Linked DNA regions of Homo sapiens: all the other regions are linked to region 1. Evidence: promoter capture Hi-C in 16 types of primary human blood cells and fetal thymus (Javierre and others, 2016). All regions are on one chromosome and are shown on one strand. The core of a region is centred on a gene start or on the middle of the fragment in contact, and the rest is flanking DNA. Distances in the headings are between cores, read along the strand shown. Region 1 holds the start of CCSAP (centriole, cilia and spindle associated protein). Region 2 holds the start of C1orf35 (chromosome 1 open reading frame 35). Region 3 holds the start of GUK1 (guanylate kinase 1). Region 4 overlaps IBA57 (iron-sulfur cluster assembly factor IBA57).

Evidence for each region. Contacts are between HindIII fragments. The CHiCAGO score rates a contact against its expected background, and 5 or more counts as called.
Region 2: a contact is called between the fragment with the promoter of C1orf35 here and the fragment with the promoter of CCSAP in region 1, in 10 of 17 cell types (neutrophils, total B cells, fetal thymus and 7 more). The highest score is 16.9, in neutrophils.
Region 3: a contact is called between the fragment with the promoter of GUK1 here and the fragment with the promoter of CCSAP in region 1, in 10 of 17 cell types (total B cells, neutrophils, fetal thymus and 7 more). The highest score is 13.1, in total B cells.
Region 4: a contact is called between a fragment that was not itself captured here and the fragment with the promoter of CCSAP in region 1, in 2 of 17 cell types (non-activated CD4 T cells and naive CD8 T cells). The highest score is 5.4, in non-activated CD4 T cells.

What each region holds. Positions count from the first base shown.
Region 1 is chr1:229,341,241-229,344,828 of GRCh38, forward strand. CCSAP (centriole, cilia and spindle associated protein) reads right to left here and starts at 1,807. Exons shown (of 4, transcript NM_145257.5): 1 at 1,672-1,807; 2 at 859-1,273. The coding sequence starts at 1,225. RefSeq lists silencers at 856-1,055, 1,256-2,115, 2,962-3,256. The HindIII fragment of the contact is 1,840 bases long and covers 431-2,270 here.
Region 2 is chr1:228,101,611-228,105,198 of GRCh38, forward strand. It overlaps C1orf35 (chromosome 1 open reading frame 35), which reads right to left and starts at 1,715. Exons shown (of 8, transcript NM_024319.4): 1 at 1,524-1,715; 2 at 1,289-1,439; 3 at 1,033-1,078; 4 at 868-950; 5 at 700-772; 6 at 470-555. The coding sequence starts at 1,617. RefSeq lists enhancers at 1-481, 482-1,201, 1,202-1,922, 1,923-2,642 and silencers at 550-629, 880-1,049, 1,210-1,479. The HindIII fragment of the contact is 8,620 bases long and covers 1-3,588 here.
Region 3 is chr1:228,138,442-228,142,029 of GRCh38, forward strand. GUK1 (guanylate kinase 1) reads left to right here and starts at 1,838. Exons shown (of 8, transcript NM_001159390.2): 1 at 1,838-1,922. The coding sequence starts at 1,862. RefSeq lists enhancers at 1,465-1,514, 1,625-1,854 and a silencer at 1,865-2,424. The HindIII fragment of the contact is 28,593 bases long and covers 106-3,588 here.
Region 4 is chr1:228,166,389-228,169,976 of GRCh38, forward strand. All of the region lies in intron 1 of IBA57 (iron-sulfur cluster assembly factor IBA57), which reads left to right. Among named protein-coding and RNA genes, the nearest start is that of IBA57, 2.4 kb to the left of the region's middle. RefSeq lists a silencer at 1-47. The HindIII fragment of the contact is 1,242 bases long and covers 752-1,993 here.

The sequences.
Region 1 (3,588 bases), core at 557-3,056:
TTTTGAATATTAAATGACAACATACATATTCCCAGATCAGTGACTGAATGTCTAACAGGCTCCCAATACATTTTCCATGTTTTCCTCACTCGAGCCTTTTTAAAATCCAGTGATCTGGAAGGAACCATTGGTTACTCCAGGCTGTACTGAGGCGTTCAACTGGGTCCCCAGCCCTGCAAGCCTCTGGGCAGGAAAGAAGGTGAAGGGGCCATGCCTTGAAAACACGCGCAGCGCCACCGGCGCTTTCGGATCTGGACAGGCGAGGGAGGATGGGGAGGGACGGAAGGGGAGAGGCCCTAGCACTTATAAAGATGCTCTCACAGCCAAGTTATTCAACACTCCACGTAAACAAATGCAAAATATTCTTTAGGGACAGCGTAGCGAGGTCGGGGAGTTAATACGGAAAACAATGGCCCCATTCATCAGACAAAGCTTAGCTCTGTGGTTCTTAACCTTTTGGGTTACCTTTGAGAATCTGATTAAAGCTGGGGCTCCTCTGATCAAAAATGGGCGCCTAGAAATAAGCAGATGGGACTCAGTGGTTCGCCAAGAAATAAGATGGGATTCAGAGGTTTGCCAAGCCGCAGAGGCCCGCGAGGAAAGACCCCAGACTCAGCCAGCGGCGCTTCAATTGAGTTCACCGCTGGCTCGACCGAAAGCCACCTAATTAAGGAAATAAAGGGTGGCAAAGGCTGCCACCTTCCCTATTTTGTCAAGAGAGACGGATTCTGTCAACCGAAAAAAAAAAAAGGAAGAGCCAGCCCCGAGTGGCGCAAGAAATAAGAGATCAGCTGCTCAGAGCTTAGAGCAAACCGTCCCTGCGTGCAGGCCCCTCGCGCTCCCCTCCGGGCCGGGTACCTGGCAGAGCCGCGTCCTCCGCGTCCTCGGCCTCCGCGTCCCCGGCCTCCGCGTCCTGCTCCTCCGGGGCCCCGCGCGCCCGCCGTTCCGCCTCCTCCTGGGTCGCCGGCTCTACGGGCGGCGGGGGCGAGGGCGGGGCGCACCGGGGTGCGGGGCCCCCGGCGCCCGACGACTCTGACGACGCCGAGTCCTCCGAGGAGCCGGCCGGGCCCCAGTCGTCCCAGAGCCAGGGCGCGTGCGCCTGCTCCAGCAGCCGGCGGCCTAGGCGGTAGTGCAGCAGCTCGCGGTAGCACGGCCCGTACTCCTCCCAGCGCGGCTCCTGGTAGCGCTTCATGTACTCGCTCTTCACCCCGCTCCCCGGGGACATGGTGCCGTCCGCCGCCTCGAGCGCCAGCCGCTCCTCGCTGCCCGCAGCCTACGGGACCCGGTACACGACACAGAGGCCGCCCCGCCCCTCCGCCGGCCCTGCCCGCCGCGACGTTTAAACCCGGAGCCCCGCCCGGACGGGAGCAGGGGGCGGGTCCCGGCGAGGGCGGGGAGGGGGCGGGGCGGGGGCGGCCTCACCCGGCGGCCGGGACCAAGAGCAGAGGCGGGGACCGGGGCTGCTGGGGTCGAGGGGCGCGCCGCCGAGGAGGGCTGCTCAGTGGGCGGAAGGCAGGGAGGCTGCGGGCTGGGGCGAGGGGACCGCAGGAGACTGGGGCTGAGCGGGAGGAGGAGCGAGGGAGGGGAGCGGCGGGGCCCGTGATCGGGTGGTCCTGGGGTCTCCGGAGGCGTCCCCTGAGCTAGGCGTGCGGTCCCGCGGGGCTGCCTTACCTCCTTCCCGCCGCGCCCGGCCGATCCTCTGCGCCCAGGCCCGAGGCGCGCGTGGCGCAGCAGCTAAAGCGCAGCTCGCTCTCCCGCGCGCTTTCCTCCTGAGCAAGATGTCGCCGCGGCGGCCCGCGCTCCAGCTGCAGGCGGGAGGCGGTGGCGCCGCCTCAGTCCCGGAGCCTCCACGCGCGCTCCCGGCCCCCGGGCCTCCGCCCGCTCCGTGGGGGCGGCTGCTTCCGTAGAGAGCGCGAGGCGCGGGGGTGCGGGCGTGCCTGCCAGTCCGAGGGGCCCAGGCCCAGGTCCCTGGCCCACTTATTTGAGGTGCCCGTCCACCCTGGTCCCAGCAGACGCTGTCCCAGGCACGCGTCACTCTGCAGGAGTCGTCAGTTAGGGGCAAGAGATGATCCCTCCAGATATGCAGCCCCCCCAGGCTGCGGCCGGGGGCGACACTCTCTGTCCTCACTCGAAACCTACCGGTTCTTCCTCTCTGTGTTCACAACACCTGTTACTCTGGCTTTAACTCCCTTTTATATCTACACTCCCCAAATTCTTTTAGATTTTGATCAAAACCATTTCACTCGCTCAGAGATTCGTTTGCACATAAAAGCTTGACAGATTAACTTACGTTGTGCAGAAGTATACAAAGTTGTCCCATTTGTTACAGTTTCAAAAGTGGCCCCACACTCTTTTCCCTTTTTACACATAAAACCTTCACAGATCCAGTTACTTTGTGCAGAAGTATACAACGTTGCCCCATTTGTTACAGTTTCAAAAGTGGCCCCGCACTGTTTTCCCTTTTTGCTCATAAAACCTCCACAGATCCGGCTGAGCGCTGTGGCTCACGCCTGTAATCCCAGCATTTTGGGAGGCCGAGGCGGGTGGCTCACGAGGTCAGGAGATCGAGACCATCCTGGCTAACACAGTGAAACCCCATCTCTACTAAAAAAATAAAAATAAAAAGAATTAGCCCGGCGTGGTGGTGAACGGCTGTAGTCCCAGCTACTCGGGAGCCTGAGGCAGGAGAATGGCGTGAACCCGGGAGGCGGAGCTTGCAGTGAGCCTAGATTGCGCCACTGCACTCCAGCCTGGGCGACAGAGCAAGACTCCGTCTCAAAAAAAATAAAAAATAAAAAATAAAAACCTTCACAGATCCAGTTACATTGTACAGAAGAATACAACGTTGCCCCATTTGTTACAGTTTCAGAAGTGGTCCTGCACTATTTTCCCTTTCTTAAAAAAAGAGCCTTGATACAGTAGCTGCAAAAAGATTTGAAAGGAAAAAACTTTTGGAAAATCTAAATATATATATAGCAGTTAAAAAGCAAGCCCAGGCCGTGAGTAGCGCTCACGGCTTCCACGTCAGGATTCCCACGAATTCACCTACTTTCTACGTGTCCGCATCCTGCCTCCCACCACCACCGCCCACCTCATCATAGCTAAATGATTCAGAGGCGGCTACTGGCCCAAATGGGGCGGGTCAGACCGTCTGCTCTGAAAACTTGAAGTTACTAGTCCAATCATTAGCACGGGATTGTGTTAATGGCAGTTTTCTGGACGGAAACTCCAGGATACCCTGCTGCTAATGAGTCCGCGGACGCCATGATTTCTCCCCTTCCCAACTTTATTTTCTGTTCCTTGACTTACATTAGGGACATTCTAATGCACTTTCCTTTTGTTTAAGCTGGCTGGGGTTGGTTTCTGATGTTTGCAACCAAAGTAGCCTTAATAAAGATTGAATAAGGTGGGGAAATGGTTATATGTAGTTCTATGGGACATGCAGGACACCATCGGTTTCAGCTTTTGCTGCATAATTCACTCCAAAACTCAGTGGTTTAAAACAGCTAAGATTTATTATTTCTTATGATTCTGAGGGTTAGCTGGGCAGTTCCTCCGCAGTTGGATTCTGATGGAGAGACAGCAGGG
Region 2 (3,588 bases), core at 465-2,964, 1.2 Mb before region 1:
TCCTCAGTTACGTAGTCACGTGGCCAGTGGCTACGTGGGTTAGAAACAGATGCAATATCCCCATCTCCACAGCACGCCCCTGCCCCACCCCAGCCGTGCCCTTGGCAGGTTGACACCTTCCTACCTGCACCCACCAGGCCACTCTTAGGGTCAGGCCCAGGCTCACCATCCAGGAGAAGCCCTGGAGGTGCCACCCACGGCAGGAAAAGGCCCCGCCCCAGGTCCTGAGTGCCCTCCCACGGCACAGCGCCCGACCACTGCCAGTACTTAGGACCTCTCTTCAAGGGTGACCCGAGAAACTCCCCTAGAGAAAAACCTAGGAGTAACTGGGACAGGAAGTAAAGTAGGGCAGGCCACCCGCCGGGCCGGTGCGCCAAGAGAAGCTGCCACCTGCCCGAGTGGGAGCCGCTCCGGTCCTCCCGAGACCCCCCACCCCGGGGCACAGCTAGCCCAGGTGGCACAGCCTCACCTGCTTTCCGTCTGATCCTCCGCCCGCGGCTTCCTCCTGGCCGAGGCTGCCGAGGTCCCGGGCCCGCCGCTCTCTACGCGGTGATGCTGCGGGAGAAGCGAGCTCTGCGGAGGAGTCTGCGGGCCGGCCCCACACCACGCCCCGCAGCGCCCCGGGGAGCTCCGTTCAGTGCCCCCGCCCCGCCCCACCCCTGTTAGCCCCTGCTGCGGTCAGGCGGGGCGGGGGATTACCGTGAACACAGACAGCCCCAGTTTGGCGGCCTCCTTGTCCTCTCGGGACATCGCCACGCGGCCCACGGAGCCACTGCAGGGACATGGCGATGAAGACAGTACGGCAGGGGTCCGCCTCACCCGAGCAATCGAGCCCAGTGCTGCCCTCCCCTGGAAACCCGCCCGCACCTTGCGCTCCCCAGCCCCAGCAGCCGGTCCACGCCCTTCTCCTCGGGGTCGCCTCCTTCCCGCTTGCAGACCTCCGCGAAGTCCTGCAGGTGCGAGAGCACAGGGAGCGCTCGAGTCGGCCCCACACCCACGGCCCTCCACGCGCCCCCCACCCCGGGGAGTTACCTCCTTGCTCAGGCCCGTGGGCTGCTTCTTCACGTTCTTGTAGCCACTGCGAGAGGGCCGGGGCAGGCGTCAGGACGGACGGACCTCCTCCCACCACAGGTCCTCACCACTCCAGCCTTCGTCCTCAGGGTCCCGCCCGCGCGAGTCCCCGCAGCCCCGCTCCCGCCCAGCCCGACCCCCAGTCCCCGGCCCCGGCCCCACCCTGCCCCGGCAGCGCCGTCCCAGGCACCGACCGCTGCCGTCCGCGGACACTCACAGGGCGGCCAGCAGCGCCTCGCGCTCCGCCTCCCGCACGGCTGCCAGTTCCTCCTCGCGGCTCGGGCCCGCGCATGGCGCCCGGCCCTTGGCGTACCAGGTGAGGTCGCGGCCCTTCTGCCAGCGGCCTACCGGCGCCATCAGCGAGTTGCCTGCGGACGTAGACGCTGTGAGTCCAGCGCCCGCCCGGGATCCCGGAGCCCGGAGCCCGGAGCCCGCCCACCGCGCGCACCCACCCAGGTAGTTCTCCCGCTGCTTGTCAGTCTTCACGTCCTCCCAGTTGAACTGGTCCTGCCCGCCGCGCACGCCTCCACGACTGGAGCCGAACATGGCGCCGGGAAGGCAGTTGCCTGGGGCCTGCGGCTTGCAACCTGCAACCCGCAACCCGAGACCCGCTACCCACTACCGTCGGACCCAGGCCCGACCCCGCCTCCGCGTCGCGCGCCGTGACGTCACTCCCGCGCCCACTCGGCTTCGCCGCGCGCCTCTGCGCAGCGCACTGCCCCGGATCTGTGCTCCCGCGCATCACCTCCACGTCGGCTTTGGGCGCCTGCGCACTGCGCCTACCCTGCCGGGCGCGGGAACGCCTCTGAACTGGAAGTTTAAAAATGGTTAAAACGGGGCCGGGCGGAGTGGCTCTCGCCTGTAATCCCAGCAAGTTGGGAGGCCGAGGCGGGCGGATCGCTTGAGGTCGGGAGTTCGAGACTAGCCTGTCCAACATGGTGAAACCCGGTCTCTACTCAAATACAAAAATTAGCCGGGTGTGGTGGTGCACACCTGTAATTCCAGCTACTCAGGAGGCTGAAGCAGGAGAATCACTTGAGCCGGGAGGCAGAGGTTGCAGTGAGCCGAGATCGCGCCACTGCACTCCCGCCTGGGCGACAGAGCGAGACTGTCTCAAAAATAAGAAGTTAAAATGGGCCAGGCGCGCGCGCGCCCCTGTAGCCCCAACGCTTTGAGGCTGAGGCGGGAGGATCTCGAACCCAGGACTTCGCGCCACTGCACTCCAACCTGAACGAGTGAGCGGACCCTGTCTCATAAAAAAAGAAAAAAGAAAACACACAAGATGCGCCTAGTTAACACCGCCAATTGGTCACTGCTAGTCGCGATTCCATATCGGGAGCTTAACAAGGTAATGACCTTAATGATTTGTGGAATTTCTGAGTATTACCCAGTAAACTTCTGGATGAACCAGCAGCTACCCAGACACCCTCAGAGCACTGGTCCTATCCCTGCCGTGTTAAACTGAATGTGCACCCTAACTCCCATGTGAAATCCTCACCCCAAGGCGTTGGTGCTTCGGAGGTGACTAGGTCATGAGGACAGAGCCTTCATAAAAGGGACCCCAAGAGCTTTGTGCAGCTTTCTACTGTGTGAAGGCAGCGGGAAGGAAGTCTGCAGTCTGGAAGAAACCCCTTACCAGAACCTCAGCGTGCTGGGCACCCTGATTTTGGAGGTTGTGACGTACCCCTGCTTCCCCTTTCCACTTTCATTCCCAGTGCTGACTGAGAAACAGAGTCCCTTGGCCACTCTGTGACTTCGCCAACTGTATAATTTCCTCTGCAGACTTGAACCCGAGCCATAGCCATGAACGTTCCCAGGCACAGATGACAGTAACTAGGTTGTTGCTCAAAACACAGAAAGAAACTGGACTCAGCCTGAGCCAGATTCCTCAAACCCTCATATAAATTCCATTCACCAACCCCCTCCCCCACGGACATACCTAGAGAGAACTTCATTTCTCTCACTGCCTATTGCAAGAACTGCTGCAGCCCACTCTGTACAAAAGCCCCACGAATAAATGCTCTGGGCGAATCACCCTGGCATGCTCAATCTGTAGAATCCTAACCAGCCCCATCTCAGGATGGTGTGGGGCACTCCCTTGTGGGAACTCTACTGCCACCACTTTTGGGGCAATTCCAGCCACAGGTTGAACTGGATGAAATACAGGTCTACTGTCCTGTGGGAAATTTCTGTTTCTTAGTGACCCAGTCCATGGGTCAGGCTGTTAGAGCAGGCTGGCAGACAGCCACACGTCTGGCTCATCTATCTACTTAGCAAGTACTGGCTGCCATCTCCCTCATGAGGCACTGCATGAGCTTTCATCATGGAGCAGGTGCATGGCGAGGGCAGAGCAGCAGGCCACAGCCAGGCACACAGAAGGTGACTGGCCGACTCCCAGGAAGGCTCCCTGGGGTGTAGGGCATCATCTCCTGGGTGCCATTGCAGCTTGCCAGGCCAGGGTGGACTTGGGCCATGTGGGCAGGGCCCAGCTGTGGAGTCTGACCACTGACTGGATGT
Region 3 (3,588 bases), core at 588-3,087, 1.2 Mb before region 1:
AGGCTGCCTCAATTCATGAATCACGAATAAAAGCCAGCGAGACCTATGAATACATATGACATAATTTTGCCTCTGACAGTGAACTTCCCCTTTTTTTGCCTAAAAAGCTTCTCCTTGCCCACCTCCCCCAATGCAGCACCTATGGTATGACATAGCACATGTATTCCAGGTTACAATCCCTTGTCCAACAAACTGTTTTATTATTAGTATTTAAAAAAAATAGAGACAAGGCTTTGCCATGTTGCCCAGGCTGGTCTCCAACTCCGGGGCAAGTGATCCATCCGCCTTGGCCTCCAAAAGTGCTGGGACTGCAGGCATGAGCCATGGTGCCCAGCCCCAACACATTTTTTTGAAGTTGTATTTTTTAAAGTTTTACTTTTTTTCTTGCTCTCCTGCAGTTCACATTCAATACTTTTTTTTTTTTTTTTTGAGACGGAGTCTCATTCTGTCGTCTAGGCTGGAGTGCCGTGGCTTGATCTCGGCTCACTGCAACCTCCACCTCCCAGGTTCAAGTGATCCTCCTGCCTCAGCCACCCCAGTAGCTGGAATTACAGGGGCCCACGACCACACCCAGCTGATTTTGTATTTTTAGTAGAGACAGAGTTTCACCATTTTGGCCAGGCTAGTCCCAAACTCCTGGCCTCAGGTGATCTGCCTGCCTCGGACTCCCAAAGTGCTGGCATTACAGGTGTGAGCCACTGCACCCAGCCTTCAATAAATCTTTTTTAAAAATTTAAAATAATTTTTAGAAATAGAGTCCCGTGGCCAGGTGCAGTGGCTCACGCCTGTAATCCCAGCACTTTGGGAGGCCAAGGTTGGTGGATTACCTGAGGTTAGGAGTTCAAGACCAGCCTGGCCAACATGGTGAAACCCTGTCTCTACTAAAAATACAAAAATTAGCTGGGCGTGGTGGCGGGCGCCTGTAATCCCAGCTACTCGGGAGGCTGAGGCAGGAGAATCGCTTGAACCTAGGAGGCCCAGGTTGCAGTGAGCAGAGATGGCGTCACTGAACTCCAGCCTGGGTGACAAGAGCGAAACTCCGTCTCAAAAAATAAAAAAAGAAAGAAATAGGGTCTCGCTCTGTCACACAGACTGGAGTGCAGTGACACGAACACCGCTCACTGCAGCCTCGACTGCCCAGGCTCAAGCGACCGTCCCACGTCAGCCTCCCGAGTAGCAAGGACTACAGGCACAAAAAAGTTTTTAAATTTTTTGGTACAGAAGGGGTTTCCCTATGATCCCCAGGCTGGTCTCCAATTCCTGGCCTCAAGCGGTCCTCCCGGCTCGGACTCCCAAAGAGCTGGGATCACAGACGTGAACCACGCGCCCGGCCACATTCCCCAATTAATGGTTTTTGGAGAGTGGCCGGTTTGGAACGGGCTAGCGGAGTCGTTCGTTAGTTAGGTCCCTGCAGTGTAGATGGAGGACGGAAACGGCGCTGTGACATAAGCGGGAGGAGGCGGGCTGAGGCAGCGCTGTGACGTAGCAGATGAAAGCCGGGCCCGCGCTGCACTGAGGTACTTCTCTGAGTGACAAGCGGGACAAGTACGCCGTGGGCGGGGCCGGCGGGTCGTGATGTTAGTTCGCGCTGTGTGGAGGCGGGCCGGCGTGGCGCTGTGACGCAGCGGGAGAAGACGGGCTGGGAGGGCGCTGTGCTGAACGCCCCTGCGGTCGCGACAGGCCAGCGCAGGTGGAGGCGGGGCTAGCGAGGCACTGAGGTAAGTACTTCCCTAAGGGGCGGGGAAGAACGAGTGAGACATGGGCGGGGCAGTCGCCTCATGACGTCAGTCTCGCGCGCGGGCGGAGGTGGGCCGGTGCGGCGCTGTCACGTAGGTTCAGTGGGCGGAAGAGGTGGCCCCGGATGCTGCGGCGCCCGCTGGCCGGGCTGGCTGCGGCCGCCCTGGGCCGGGCCCCACCGGACGGTGAGTACGACAAGCGCGATCGCGAGGGTGACTCGGGTCGAGGCGGCAGCGGTCCCTGCGCTTTGCGGTCGCCCAGTCCACGCCGCCTCCGGATCTCCTCCTAGCCGAGACGCCCTGTGCCGCATTCAACTGTGGGCCCTGAGAACGGGGGAGCTCTGGAGGGCGGACGGGCTGGCAACGCAGCGGAGCCCGGGTCCCGGAGGGCGGGGCGCTCCTCAGGAGCTGGGCAGGCCGGCAGTTATCGCAGTGTCGAGCTGCTCCCCGGGCGTATAGGAGCGCTCGGTGTCTTCCCGACACCTGGGCGCGCCGCCAAAGAGAGCAGCTGGGAGTCCCTACCGCTGGCCCGGCGCGGTGTGCGCTCCGGTTCCCACCTCACCCTGCAAGCCTTGGGGTCCTGGGCGGATGGAGCCGGCTATTCCGGGGCTCCCAGGATTCTGCCTACTCCGCGGCACGGCGCAGAGACGGGGACTTGGGGAAACAGCAGGCCTTCCCGACGCATGGGTGTGGCATTTGGGGTTCGGATTCTCCAAAGCCAGAGTCCGGGTTGGGGTTCTTGAAGCTGCCCTGCTGCCATTCTTGAGCGTCGCCTTAGAAGTATGCCCCAGTAAGGACTGGTGTGGGAAGCAGGTGCCTCAAAGTTGATTTTGACCCTGCGTGTGGTGGGCCTCGGTTTCGTCTTTGCATGAAAGAGGTCGGTCCTGAGGCCCCGGGCTGGGTCCTGCTCTGCTGTCTTTGGGCTCATGGCCCCTTCCTGTCTCAGGCTTGCTCTGCTCTTTACCTGGGGTTGCTGTCGAGGACCCTGTGCAAGACTCGGCCGGTTTTTCTTTCTCCCTGATGGACAGACCCAAACATAGCCGCGCAGCATCGTGAAGGGCTGGGGCCTTCACTCCTCTGTGGCTCTGGAAGAGCCCGATTTCCTCAGGAGGTAAAGGAATGTTCCTGTCCCCCCCGGGGAAAGAAAGTGAAAATGAAAGCGCCCTGGCTGCTCCTGGTGTGGTCCCATTTAAAACGAGGTTGCTGAAGGCCAGGATGCGTGCTACCCGGATGTGTGCCCAGAAACCCTGCAGCCAAGAGCAGCCGCCTGGACCACCAGCCTCCCCTTCATCCACCTGGCCCAGCCCAGAGCCCAGGCCCACGTCTGGTGGTTTGTGTCTTACGAGAGGCCAGGCGGGGGCTGAATTCTCTCGGTTCTCAGAAGGTCAAGCCCTCTGTTAGCATCTCCTCGAACAGTGGGCCGGGGGCAAGGTGGTGACTCTGTTCAGTCCTTAGGATGGCTGGAAGCCAGAAGGAGGAGATTATGCCGCCACAGCAGGGAGTGCCTTTCCAGGAAAGCGGCTGCTGGGGCAGCATGGGAGCCCAGTCCAGGGAGCGTTCTGGCAGAGACCATTCCGGAACATGGATCTGCGCCGGCGGCTCCCAGGAGACCTTCCATCTCGGAGCTCCTGTGGAGACCACGTGCCTGGCAGGTCCTTACAGTTGTGGGTTGTGTGGCTTCTTGCCAGGCAGCTGATTGGAGTTTGCGACTGTGGGTTGGTGAGAGTGGAGAGCACAGAATGTTTGCTGGAATGCTTCCCTCTGCCCACAGGAAGACACCTTTGGCGCATGTGTTCTGGTCAGGGCAAAGGCTCCGTGGTTTCCACCGCAAGATTGCAGGAGCCTTGAGGCC
Region 4 (3,588 bases), core at 123-2,622, 1.2 Mb before region 1:
GGGCCCAGCACCCGGGGGAGGGCACCCAGAGGAGGGCTTGGCTCAACACCCAGGGATGGGTCAGCGACTCATCCAGGGGAGGCCTGGGGGCCAGCCCACCATATCAGAGCAGAGGCGTCTCTAGGTGGGCACCTCCCAAGTGGGCCATCTGGTGACCCTTCTCCCTCCGCAGGGACAAGGGGTTCAGGGGCCCCGCCTGGTGGCAGAGCTGTGTTTCTGAGTGACAGCTTGTGGTGACACTCCCGAGTTCTGTTTACCTTGTGTTTCCCTGTGTCTCCCCATAGCTGGTCACATTGGCATTTGGCTCAGTCATCTGTGCTGACATCACGACTGTCAGTGATGTTCATGCCGGGTCAGGGCCTTGACTGCTTACAGCCTTGGGTTTCCCTTGCCCAGCTTCCAGGGACCTGGATCCCTGAAACCTCCGCCCGGTGGAGTGGATCTGGTTCGCGGCCGCCTGCCTGCTGTCCCTGCTATGGCGGACCCGGTTCTTGTTCTCTTCAGCTTACTCCTGTGTTTTGGTTTCAGGGGATGGACACCTTTTTAATGACTTCCTGAGCTACGTGGGGTGAATTTTTGGACTCATTGTGTCTCTGCTAGTGGCTTTACCTGATATCCTGGCTGGGTGTAAAAATCTAGCTTGGAAATTGTCACCGACAATGTTCACATCACAACTTTGTTTTCTCGCTGCCAGCTTTTCTGAGAAGTCTGGTGCCGTTCTTATTTGTATGTGAACTGTGTTTTTCTCAGAAGCTTTTCTTTATTCTTGATGTCGTGAAATGTCATGCTGATGTGTCTTAGTTTGGGCTTTTTCCATATCACATCTCTGGGCACTTAGTGGGCTCTTTAAATCTAGAACCAGAGTTGGTGAAATACGGCCCTGAGGTCAGACCCAGCCCATTGCCGGTGTTTATAATAAAATTCTCTGGGAACCCCACCCGTTGGATTCCAGGTGGTCTGGGGCTTCTTTTTTTTTTTTTTTTTTGAGACGGAGTTTTGCTCTTGTTGCCCAGGCTGGAGTGCAATGGCACAATCTTGGCTCATTGCAACCTCTGCCTCCAGGGTTCAAGAGATTCTCCCGCCTCAGCCTCCCAAATAGCTGGGACTACAGGTGCCTGCCACCATGCCCGGCTAATTTTTGTATTTTTAGTAGAGACAGGGTTTCACCATATTGGCCAGGCTGTTTTCACACTCCTGACCTCAGGTGATCCACCCGCCTCGGCCTCCCAAAGTGCAGGGATTACAGGTGTGAGCCACTGTGCCCGGCCTGGGGCTGCTTTTGTCTGGAGTGGTAGAGTTGTGGCACGAGTGTGGCCCTCAAGCCTAAGTTATTCACTGGCCCTTTACAGAAAAAGTGTGCCCACCCTAGCTCAATAGGCTTAAATCTTCATGTCCCAGTTCAGAGATATAGTCATCATAGTCTGTCTTATGTATTCATTACATTCTGTCTAGCTGCTTTAATTTCTTCATCTTAAGAACTACATTCTTTGATTCTCTGGAGCCTTCTATGTTAGTACTTTGCTGTTCACATGTTAGCCTTACAATGATGTTGATTTTGGTCCCCAAATTCCCTTCCATATTTCTATAGTCCTCTCTTGTCCTTTTCCCTTTGAGTCCTAGTTCAATTGAATTCCTATTCTTAATAAGTGTTTTGTGGTGTAAAGTACAGCTGACTTTGCACTACATAGGTCACTTATGCGTGGATTTTCCTTCACCTCTGCCACCCTGAGACGGCAAGACCAACCCTTCTTCTCCTTCCTCCTCCTCAGCCTACTCAACATGGAGACCATGAGGATGAAGATGTTTATGTTGATCCATTTCCATTCAGTGAAGTGGAACTACATTTCCTCTTCCTTAGGATTTTCTTCCTGGGATTTGTAGCTTACCGTATTGTAATACAGTATATAATAGCATAAAACATAAAAAATATGTGCCACTTGACTGCGTATGTTATGCATAAGGCTTCCAGTCAACAGGAGTCTGTTAGTAGTTAAGCTTTTGGGGAGTCAAAGCTTAAAGGTGGGTTTTCAACTGTGTGGGGGCCAGTGTCCCTAGCCCTTGCATCATTCAAGGGTCAGCTGTCTGTCCTTTCTGTGTCTCAGGGCTTTTTCCTCTTCATCCTTTCTTGCCTGGTCTGGAGCTTGTCTGCAGACCTACTGGGCCCCAGCTCCCCTTACCAAGCATATGCTTGGTGGCTCCTCTGTGTCTTTCTATTTGCTCTCATTGTGGGGGTCTCTGTCCTCGAGGTCTGCAGGAGGAGTTAATTTTCTTCACTTGTGCTGGGTGTCTGGTGTGTCCGCCACTGTTCTGAGTGCTGAGGGCATTGGAGGCGGCTCTGTTCTTCCCCAGCTCAGCACTGAAGGGTGACGTCATCCAACTCTGGTCTCCCTTCTGAGATGTGACACAACGTCACAGGCCAGGGAGCTCCACTCTGAGGGGTCAGGTGGGGCGGGACCATCCTCCGTGGGATTCAGCATCTGTGTAATAATACTTGAAACCCTCTAGCTTCAGTTCTGTTGGAGTTCATGGCCCTGTTTCTCCTCAGCCGTCAGAAGAGGGACACAACAAGGTTACCTCCTTGAGTGTCTCCCCAGGGGTGGTGGGTGACAGGTGTCCAGATGCCACCCCTCCCAGCTATGTGGCATGGGTGGGCTTAGGGCTGCGCTCGTTGGGCACGTTTAGTTCAGTTCATGAGAGTGTAAACTCTTTTCCTTGTCGGGCTGCTGTTGGCTGTTGACCTCCCTCTCTGTGGTTTGCCCCCTCTGGTCACTCCTCTGGGGAGAGGGCAGCCTGCAGGTCAGGGACCACCTCTCCCTGGAAGCCTCTGTGTGTTCCTGCTTCTCTGGTCATTCCCTGCCCATCATTCCTTTATGGTTTTTTCCTGACTGTAGGATTTTTTATTTCAACTTTGATACTTAATATATCATCCTGAGCCATCGCTTCCTTAAAGCACCCTATTCTTGTTTCCTGAATGTAGCACCTTCTTTCAGATGAAACTATAGTTATTTGGTTGTTGTCTTTTAATAGGAGTTGCTTTTTAGAGCAGTTTTAGGTTCTCAGCAAAAGAGCAGAATGTGCAGAGATTTCCCATATTACCTCACAACTTCCCCCACCAGAGTGCTATTTTCGTCACAACTGATGAACCTCTGTTGACATGCCATCATCACTTGGAGTACAGTTTCCATGAGGGCTCACTCTTGGCTTGGTGTGTTCATGAGTTAGGCAAATGTATGATGACACATGTCTACCATCGTAGCATCACATACAGTAGTGTCACTGCCTTGAAATCCTCTGTGCCCTGCCCATCCATCCATCTCCCCTAACTCCTGGCCACCACTGATGTTTTCAGTGTCTCCATAGTTTCATGCTTTCCAGAATGTCCTGTAGTTGGACTCATGCATCTGTAGCCTCTTCACATTGGCGTTCTTCACTTAGTGATATGCGTTTAGATTCCTCCATGTTTTTTCATAGCTTGACAGCTAATTTCTTTTTTTTTTAGACAGAGTCTTGCTCTGTCCCCCAGGCTGTAGTGCAATGGCGCAATCTCGGCTCACTGCAACCTCTGCCTCCCAGGTTCAAGCGATTCTC